Linked DNA regions of Homo sapiens: region 1 is linked to region 2. The links are contacts of gene promoters, found by promoter capture Hi-C in blood cells and fetal thymus (Javierre and others, 2016). All regions are on one chromosome and are shown on one strand. Each heading gives the region's core, a stretch centred on a gene start or on the middle of the fragment in contact. The rest is flanking DNA. Distances are from core to core; before and after follow the strand shown.

The links. Contacts are between HindIII fragments. The CHiCAGO score rates a contact against its expected background, and 5 or more counts as called.
Region 1: a contact is called between the fragment with the promoter of ANKRD17 here and a fragment that was not itself captured in region 2, in 1 of 17 cell types (total CD4 T cells). The highest score is 6.8, in total CD4 T cells.

Annotation. Positions count from the first base shown.
Region 1 is chr4:73,255,802-73,260,756 of GRCh38, reverse strand. It overlaps ANKRD17 (ankyrin repeat domain 17), which reads left to right and starts at 1,959. Exons shown (of 34, transcript NM_032217.5): 1 at 1,959-2,481. The coding sequence starts at 2,089. ANKRD17-DT (ANKRD17 divergent transcript) reads right to left here and starts at 1,591. Exons shown (of 5, transcript NR_187399.1): 1 at 1,349-1,591. RefSeq lists enhancers at 1,438-1,707, 1,310-1,906, 4,307-4,807 and a silencer at 1,868-2,267. The HindIII fragment of the contact is 8,436 bases long and covers 1-4,955 here.
Region 2 is chr4:53,363,423-53,368,774 of GRCh38, reverse strand. It overlaps SCFD2 (sec1 family domain containing 2), which reads left to right and starts at 2,714. Exons shown (of 9, transcript NM_152540.4): 1 at 2,714-3,671. The coding sequence starts at 2,834. RefSeq lists enhancers at 2,749-2,798, 2,819-3,018, 3,239-3,288. The HindIII fragment of the contact is 212 bases long and covers 1,822-2,033 here.

The DNA of each region.
Region 1 (4,955 bases), core at 710-3,209, about 20 Mb before region 2:
TTCAAGCGATTCTCCTGCTTCAGCCTCCTGAGTATAGAATACTTTTTAAAGAAAGAAAGTTTGCTTGTGAAGGAAATAATTGAAAGCTACAGAAGAATTAGCTAAGGAACCAGAATTTGTAGAAGGTTGACAACAGAAAAGATAATAAATGCATGAGAAAGAGGGGTATTGGAACTAGAATATGTATGAAGAGTTTATCTCATATATGAACAGGGAGTCTCTCATTCGTTGATACTGGAGAAAAGGCAATCTCAGGAAATTTCTAGCACTTGGAAAATTGTGAAGTCTAAGTTAAAAGTCATATAATAAAATGGGCTGGGATTTAAAGATTGCGAAAAGTATTCAAGTGGAAAGGGAGAAAAAGATGCTGAAGAATATACAAAGTAGGAGGGAGGGATGCAGCTGAAATTATAAAATCTAAATCAGTAGTGGTGAGATACACAATGCAGTGCTCTGTTCTACACTGGAACTCAGCAACGACTGTAGGAGAGGAATAGGCAGATGGTTACCACTCCGTATATATATTTACTATAGCACTTATTACACTGTAAAGCCCCTGGAAACAAGAGACTTTGATTCCACAAATTATGCGCACAGTAGGCACATGATGAATTTTTGTTTGAATGAATTGATTTAGTCATTGCCAATTCTGCCTTGGTACTCTGTAGAGTACTGGCAACTGCCCACATTTCATATGGTATGCCAATGCTAAAAAGAAAAAAAATGCTAAAAAAAAAAAAAATCCAGGCATATTCAGCTAAACTAAGCAGTCTTAAAATGGCAACTATGTCAGCTGAGACATACTTTTAATCTTGTGCCAGTACATCTGTCTTTGATGTTTGCTTCATTTTCCGTATGCCACTATACTCCTACTAGACCAGAAAGGGATAATTCTGAGTTCAATGGGCTCCACTATCATTTCAAAAGTCCTGAAACTTCTTCAGACACCTAAAAATGAACCCACAACTCCCATAACAGCATTCCTTCCGAGAGAAGTATACAGACAACAATCACTATTTATGCTTGCTTCCAAGCTGAATCGAAGAGGGCCGGAAGAGCTAAATCAGGGTCATTCAGTGAATCGTCTACAAAGTCTGGCACAGACCACGCATCCTTCCCGTGTCTTCCTCCCCTTGGAAACTTGAGGTGTAAGTAATGATCTTAGACATCTCCTAATCGACTGCCTTCATATTACACACGTGTAAACTCAGGTAGAGGATGTCTATGAGCCGAGCTTAAACTCAGGTAAAGAAGGCTCTTTTCCCAACACGACGCCATCTCTCATGATCCAAAGCTCTATCTCTCGATTTGGCGGTGGAAAAAAATGACCAGGAATAAAACTACGTACAGCAGTCCAGAACGAGGCCCCACCTCCCGGATCTGGCGGACCGGCCTCCCGTCAGCAAAGTGTCTGGACCGCGCTTCCGCACCTCACACTGCCCGGGGCCGGCTCCTCTCCAGCCTCCCCGTACTCCCCACACGCCGCAGCACTGCGCGCCCGCGGGGCCCCAGACCCGGCCCTTGAAATCTCACTTTCGCCTTTCGGCCACCCGCGCGCCACGGCTCAGGCGACGGCTGATGGCGTCACTGCACTTCCGCCTGCGGCTGCGTTCTAATCACAAGCCAGGAAGGAAGAAGGGAGGGCTGCAGGGCTGTGTGTGCGGGAAATAGCGAGGAAAGAGAAGAAATCCGGGAGCTCGCGGGCGCTCTGGTTGCAATCGCGCCCCCCTCATCTGTCCCCGCCGTTCCCCTTCGGAAGCTGCCCCAGGCACACTTCCCCGCTTCTTTCCAGTCTCCTCTCCTCTGGTTCTCCCGACACCCGGTCTCCCTGTTACGCCTCACCCTCCTTCCCTTGCTCCCTCCCTCTCCCTCCCTCCCTCCCTCCCATCGTCAGGCTCCCCGCCCTTAGTATCGCGAGACGAGGTGAGAGCTGGCGGAGCGGCGGCGGCGGCGGCGGCAGTAGAGGTGACCGAGGCGGTGGCGGCGGAGGCGGCACCGATTGCTGTGTCGGCCCCAGTGCGGCCGAAGTCGCGGTAGAGCGTAGCCCCACGCCCCTCCCCCGTCCGCGCCCTCCCTCTTTCCCTGGGGATGGAGAAGGCGACGGTTCCGGTGGCGGCGGCGACGGCTGCAGAAGGAGAAGGGAGCCCCCCGGCGGTGGCGGCTGTGGCGGGCCCCCCCGCGGCGGCGGAGGTCGGCGGCGGCGTTGGCGGCAGCAGCAGAGCTCGCTCGGCCTCGTCTCCTCGTGGGATGGTGCGAGTCTGCGACCTGCTCCTGAAGAAGAAGCCGCCGCAGCAGCAGCACCACAAGGCCAAGCGTAACCGGACTTGCCGACCCCCCAGCAGCAGCGAAAGCAGCAGCGACAGCGACAACAGCGGCGGCGGTGGAGGCGGCGGTGGAGGCGGAGGTGGCGGCGGCGGCACCAGCAGTAACAACAGCGAGGAAGAAGAGGACGACGACGACGAGGAAGAGGAGGTTTCTGAGGCAAGGGCCTGGTTTCAAAGGAAGGAGGGAGGAAGGGACTGTAAGGGATAGGGGCCGAAGGTGGGAGGGGATTTGGAGTGGGACAGATTCCAGTGGGTTGATCTCTTAGGGGCCAGGCTTTCGACTGCCCCCTTTCTTCCCTCGGCCTAAATCGTGAGGTGTGGGAATGTGGGGGAGGGTAGCTGACACGTGGGGGTGGGAGGACCACGGAGTTCACAGAGTTGGTGAACAGCCTGTTATCATGGGATGGCTCACTTGGTTAAGGATGGAGGGAATTGGTTAGATTCCCTGTTTGCACGCCGGGGGGTGGGGGGGTGGTCTGCCTGGGGCCAGTAGGGCCACCTTAGTCTGAGGCGGGATCGGGATCAAAGCGGGAGGAGTAAAATAATGGGTAAATGAGTCTCTTGGGGACCAACTAGGAGGTTGATCAACTTCTCCCAGTTGTGAGGTGGAGGGGAGCAGTTTGAGGGGGGACGTAAGGTTGTAATGGACTCAGAGCTAAGTGTTTGTGTATGTGAGGGACACGTGAGAAGCTGTACTTTTCCATACTGTTCTGCAGGGTTTTTCGTAACTATCCTGGCTGCTGAAGTAACTTCATTTCCTCGATCTCCCAGGGATTTTCGATGAACTGATGCTGTATTTGTATAAATTTATCAGTAACTTTAAATAATTACAAATGACCATATACATTTGTAAGTGGATGAAAAATATATTTGATCCTTACACGTACATACATACATGCCTTCGAATGTTTCCTTAGTGAGTTAGAATTAAGCTAGGACCTGTTGTCCCGTAATATGGGACAGCCAAAGGGTAGGCTTTGGAGCCAGGCCTGGTTGTGGTGAGTTGGAATAGGAAGGCCTCTCGGTTTGTCCTAGTGATCTGGTTTCATAATAACTTTATAATTTTTCCTGGGTCCACAGACAGGCGGCGTTGCAGGACCTTATTCCTCACAGAAGCCCTTACAACCCAAAGGCTCAGTAAAACATACCATACTGACAACCAACTGAGAGTTAGCTTTACTAGTTATTAGCTGTTTTACCACTCTCTTGTCTCCTTCCTGAAATAGAATCTAGAAAAATCTTTATTTGGAGAGGGAAATCTTTATCAGCAGAGGGAAAACAGCTTTAAAGGCTGATTTTAAACTTAGTTCTAAGAGGAGACCAAGTGATTCATCTAAAAGTACCACTTACTATTTATTCTCTTCCACAAACATGGAACTTATTTTGATGCAAGTCTGGTTTTCCGAAAATTGGAATTATTGAATCCTGGTCTCTGTTGAAATAGAGAAGTACCTTTTAAAGGATTTGACACATGTCTATTTGTAGAAGACCAGATTCTCTTTTATCTCAGACTGGATGAAGTTGTATAGGTAGAGATATTAAGTGCTGAAGTATGTATGACAAAAATATGCCAGTCCTTGTTTTTATTCCCTTTTAGCCTGTTGGATTCTGAGAATAGGTTTGTATTGATAGACTTATATTGGCCTACTTGGATGTTTAGGATAGTGTGTTGCTCTGGCGGCATTTGAAACAAGGAAGAGAAAGATGTAATGGGGTCCTTATCCCTAATAAAATTTGTTATGGTACTTAGAATCATTCAATTGTATGATTCTTCTCAAAGGTGAGAAACATTTTACAGGTAATTCAGCCCTTTATTTTAAAAAGGAGGAAAACAAGGTTTAGAGGAAAGTGGTTGTGGTGGGTAGTAGCAAAAGTACAAATCAAAGTTTTCTAATGTCTCAGACCTGTACACTTTTTAATAATAATTTATTTCCTTTTATCACCCTCCTGATATCATTCAGAAAAATAGTTACTGAATAGCAAGGTAACACAATCATGCAGCTATAGGCAAAATACCATTACTTAAAATTTTAAATTCTCGTGAAACTATTAAGCTCTGGTTTAGAGCAAGGTTATGATAGTTGAATGCAGTACTTACTGGGATATTCTGCTGCAAACTTAACATACCTAGGTAGTTTTGTCCATTGGAATGCGGCCTAATAAGCAGAACTTTTAGTAATTCCTTAAATCATGAAGAATGGCTGTAAGTTTGTAGGTATGTTTATTTTGTGGGTCAGGTTTGTTTTCCTTTTGTAATATAGGAATGGTTATGTTGACTTTCACCAACTATGGTAGTATTTCTATGTTTTTAACATACCTTATCCTGTCTTTTACATGGTGTTAAACAATGGGTTTGTCATTTATGAAGATGAGTCAGGAGAAATACGTGTAAGAAAGTGTGCCCATTGGCCGGGCGTGGTAGCTCACGCCTGTAATCCCAGCACTTTGGGAGACCGAGGCGGGCGGATCACCTGAGGTCAGGAGTTTGAGACCAGCCTGGCCAACATGGTGAAACCCCATCTCTACTAAAAATACAAAAAAATTAGCCGAGTGTGGTGGCAGATGCCTGTAATCTCAGCTACTTGGGAGGCTGAGGCAGGAGAATTGCTTGAACCCGGGAGGTGGAGGTTG
Region 2 (5,352 bases), core at 678-3,177:
AGTCAACTCATAGAAACAGAAAGTAGAGTGGAAGTCACCAAGGACTGTGGAGAGGGGGAATGGGGAGTTGTTGTTTAATGGGTACAGGGTTTCAGTTTTGTGAGACAAGAAGTTCAGAGATTGGTTATACAACAATGTGAATGTACTTAATGCCACCAAAATGTACATTTTACAATGGTTAAGATGGTGTGACTTTTATGTTACACTTATCTTGCCATAAGGAAACAAACAAACAAAAATATGTCCCCACTAAACTCTGTATTTATTCCGCAATCTGCTTCTCTTAATGGTTTTTCAAATCTCAATGACTGGCATTCATCAGTCATCCAGACAGAAAGCTGGGTGCTAACCTGAAATTCTCCTTCCGTGTCACCCTCTCTGTCAAACTAATAAGCAAGCCCTTTGGCACTATATTCTTAACGTCTATTCATACTCCCCACTCTGTCCATCTGCTTGTTACGCTTTTCAACTCTCTCACCCAGATTTGCTGCTGATACTATTATTTTCTTAACTGCTCCCTCTGCGCTAAATTGCTCCATTTCAAATTATTTTCCATGTTTTGACTAGAACCATTTTTTTTCTAAAATCCAGATGTGAACAAATTATTTCCATACCCCAAAATACATTAATACTTCCCCACTGGCTGCTACTACTTAGAATGGAAAATAAGGCTCTTGCTGATCTAGCCCATTTCTTTCTTTTCTAATTCCTTGCTCTTATTTCTTCTTGCGCCTTTTTTCATACAATGCACTCCAGCTATAGGAAACCCTTTGTAGTTCCAGAGAACATATTGTACTGTTTTATGCCTCTACGACTTTGTTTATGCTGCACTCTGTGCCTGGACTGCTAAGAATCCTCCTCCCCATCCTGTCCACCTGGTGAACACCTGGGTTTCTTTGAAGGCAAGTCAAAACTCATGCCCTATATGAAGCTTTTTCTGACTTCTTCCTTTTTCTCTTAGAATTTATTTTTCCTCCTTCTTGACTCCTATACAAAAAATTTTAAAAAGTATTTGCTTCTGTAACATTTTATTGCACTTGTTTTACATGTGTGGGTCCCTTTATTTCATCATAATTATTTTGAAATCAGGGCTGTGGTTTAGTTTTCTTTATATCCTTAAAACCCAGACAGTGTTTGGAATACTGTACGTATTTATTAAAAATTGGCTGGATATATTATTATGTGGAATTTTTTTTTTTTTTGAGACAGAGTCTCGCTCTGTCGCCCAGGCTGGAGTGCAGTGGTGCCATCTTGGCTCACTGCAACCTCTCCCTCCTGGGTTCAAGTGATTCTCCTGCCTCAACCTCCCGAGTAGCTGGGATTACAGGTACCTGCCACCATGTCCAGCTATTTTTTGTACTTTTAGTAGAGACGGAGCTTCACCATGTTGGCCAAGCTGGTCTTGAGCCCCTGACCTCAGGTGATCTGCCCACCTCGGCCTCCCAAAGTGTTGGGATTACAGGCATGAGCCACCGCGCCTGGCCATGGATATTAATTGAACATTCATTCAACGAACATTTATTGAACACCTGTTATAAGTGTTGGGGATACCAAGCATCTAGTGCATAATTTAGCAAAACAGATAGTTTAAAGAAAATAGTGTTAATACTTACCCCATGATATGGCAAGTACTTAGCGAATGTATCAATTGAGTGGTTTGATAGGTGGGGGAAGTGAGAGGTGATAGGGTGATAGTGGTGGTGAGTTAGAAAAAGTCTCTCACAGGCAGTACTGTTGGAATGATTATTTTCGGTAAGTTTACCAGGTAAATTCTTTGTGGATTAGGTAATGAATTTTATTAACCATTGCATCTTTGAAGCTTAGCACAGAGATTATACTTAGTAATGTAAGTATATTGGTGGAACAAACAGAACCCATAAAACATTTTGGGTTCAGCCTATTGACTTCATTGTATCGGTACAATTTTTCTCCATGTTGGGAATAGCTGGAGAGAAATTGAGAAATCAAGAAGGATGTTGATGCTTTTTAAAGAGTGTGGATGTATCCTATAGGCAACTGGGCTAGGAGAAGCTTTTAAGCAGGAAAGTTGTAGGACCAACTTTGTTTATTAGGAAGAAAATAGAATTGGAGGGTAAAGAGATCAAAAGTCAGAAAATGTTGGGAGATCATTGCCTGGGTGAGCGATGATGTTGGGTTTTTGTGACAGCAAAAATGGAGAGGAAGGGCTGAATTCTGAGAGTTTTTAAGCCTATAAGATGTAGTGACGATGAGATGAGGGAGGAAAGATGGAGAAAGTGAAAATGAGAACAACAGGGTTTGTTATGAGGCTTGTGGGCGATAACGTATGTGACAGCAATCTATAAACCCAAAATATTGCACACGGTTGTTTTTATTATCTTTTTCTAGTTGCTCTGAGTTTAGATTGAGAAGGTGGCTGTACTTTTGGAGACGTGTTCATATCTAAGGAAGATACCAAATTTCGGATTAGGTTTTTATTTCGGAGACTTTTCAAGGAACATGAGAAGATTATCTGAGAAGATTATCTGCGCAGACAGGCCGAGCGACGGAAAGAACTCAGTTCAGCTCCATCTCAGGAAACACCTGATCTCCACGAGCTTTTGAGGAAGCCCGGAGCCACAGAGCCCCACCCACTTCTTTCCCGACCGCGCCATCCTTCCTCACTCCCGGCCTCCTCTCTAGCCAATCACCGCTCAGTTTAACGTCATCACCGAGCGCCATCAGGGAGCGTGTCAGAGGCCGACCACGTGTACTGTGGAGACTGTCAAAGTCTCCCGGAGCCCAATTTCCGGAAGCGGTGAGTTCTGAAAGAAGTTCCTGCACCGTAGTTTCCCAAGTCTGCGAATCCCCAACCATGAGCGCCTCGGGCGTACTGTCCTTTACCCAGCAAGGATGGGAGCAGGTGCTGGCCAAAGTGAAACGGGCTGTGGTTTACCTGGACGCCGCCTGCGCCGAGAGCCTGCACTGGGGCTGCGGATCCACCCGTCTCCTGGAGGCGGTGGGGGGTCCTGACTGTCACCTGCGAGAGTTCGAGCCCGACGCAATTGGTGGTGGAGCCAAGCAGCCCAAGGCAGTGTTTGTGCTGAGCTGCCTGCTGAAAGGCCGGACCGTGGAGATCCTACGGGACATCATCTGCCGCAGTCACTTCCAGTATTGTGTGGTGGTCACAACCGTGAGCCACGCTGTCCACCTCACAGCTAATCATGTCCCAGCGGCGGCAGCGGCCGAGATGGAGGGGCAGCAGCCGGTGTTCGAGCAGCTGGAGGAGAAGCTGTGTGAATGGATGGGCAACATGAACTACACGGCCGAGGTGTTCCATGTCCCGTTATTGCTTGCCCCTGTTGCTCCCCACTTTGCCTTGACTCCAGCTTTTGCATCCCTTTTCCCACTGCTACCCCAGGATGTGCACCTCCTTAATAGCGCCCGACCGGACAAGAGGAAGCTGGGAAGCCTGGGTGATGTGGACTCCACTACGCTAACCCCAGAGCTGCTGCTGCAGATCAGATGCCTAGTGTCAGGCCTCAGTTCTCTGTGTGAACATTTAGGAGTACGGGAGGAGTGTTTTGCTGTAGGTTCCTTAAGTCAGGTCATCGCTGCGGATCTGGCCAATTATGCCCCTGCAAAGAACAGGAAGAAGACTGCTGCAGGCAGGGCATCAGTGGTTTTTGTGGACAGAACCCTGGATCTCACAGGTAAGTGCATTGCTCTGGAGTTCTTCATTACCATTCCCCACATTGCTGGGACTTTCATTGATTCAGCATATATTTTATTGACCTTTTATTATATATTAGATTGAGGATACAAAGATGAACTAGATGGACACGGTCTCTAATCTCACAGAGTTTATTGTCTAAAGTGGAATACAGACAGGTGAATTAGCAATTACAATAACATTTGTTAAATGCTGTAATGGGTAGAAATGTCATAAATGCCCATTGCCTTGTTAAACAACAACTTTAGCCCAAGATTATGCTGACAGGGAGGAAAACTGTGCACCTGGGAAATTTTATTTTTAGAAATTTACGAATGCCAGTATTCACAACAGTCCTTCATAAGAAGACTCTGGTTTGTTGGAGAAGTGTTAATAGATGACCCAGCGGAAGGAAAACTACTGCACAAGAAAACATAAAATTATTACAGACAATTGAGGTTTAGGAAATGAGTGTTCAAAAGTGAGGCTGAACTTAAATGTTACTAGTAAATGAGATGAAATAGAATTGTAGAAAATATTTTCAAATGTTTATTGATTTATTTTTAGCTCTCATTGTATTAAAGATTAAGTAAATAATCTCAAATTGTAATAATGTATTATTTACACAAAAGAAACAAATGTAATCCTTAAAGCAGATGAAGAAAAGACACTTTCTGATGTTTGATATGTTATTTTCAAAGGTCAACTTTATTGTTCTCTAATTAGGTTGTATAATACTGTTAGTAATATAGCCTAGCCACTTCCAAGTCCAGGGAGAATAATCGGAAAACTGACATTGGTAGGCATTCCCTTTAATCGGTCAGAAAAAAAGTTGAATTAAGTTATAAAAAACGAAATAGGTATATTTGAGTTTTTAATCTTAATAAGATTAATTTTCAGATAAAAAATGGAAAGTAGGCTAAATGGTAATACTGAGATGTAAACTTAATTATGTGACTGGAAAAACCAGGTGTCCAGTCTGTGATTTAAATATATAAGTAATAACTGTAGCATCACAGAGTCCATAGGGGATTAAAAGATAAAACCTGATAAGTAGATGCTTGTTGAGTTTTTTTGTGGATGCTATATATTACTGTTACTTCTATCTCTTTATGCCAAAAATGTAGCAAAGTTGTTTCATAATCAACTGGGAAGTTCACATAATTTTGTACCCTCCCCTAAGACTTCTGTTAGGCAAAACTTAATATCCCACTGTCCAGCATCATAGTAACAGCTCTTTACATCTTCAGTAGGTAATGCTTTTTTTTTTTTTTTTTTGAGACGGAGTCTCTCTCTGTCGCCCAGGCTGGAGTGCAATGGCGCAATCTCGCGAGGCTCACTGCAAGCTCCGCCTCCCGGGTTCACGCCATTCTCCTGCCTCAACCTCCCGAGTAGCTGGGACTACAGGCGCCCGCCACTACGCCGGGCTAACTTTTCGTATTTTTAGTAGAGACGGGGTTTCACCGTGGTCTCGATCTCCTGACCTCGCGTGATCCACCCGCCTCGGCCTCCCAAAGTGCTGGGATTACAGGCGTGAGCCACCGCGCCCTTTTTTTAAACATACAGAATAAATAAGGTGAGCATAACTTCTGCCCTCTAAAAGTTTACAATATAATGTAGTCAAGTATCAATATAACGTAGTCAAGTATGATTTAGAGCCCGGCACAGTGGCTCATGCCTGT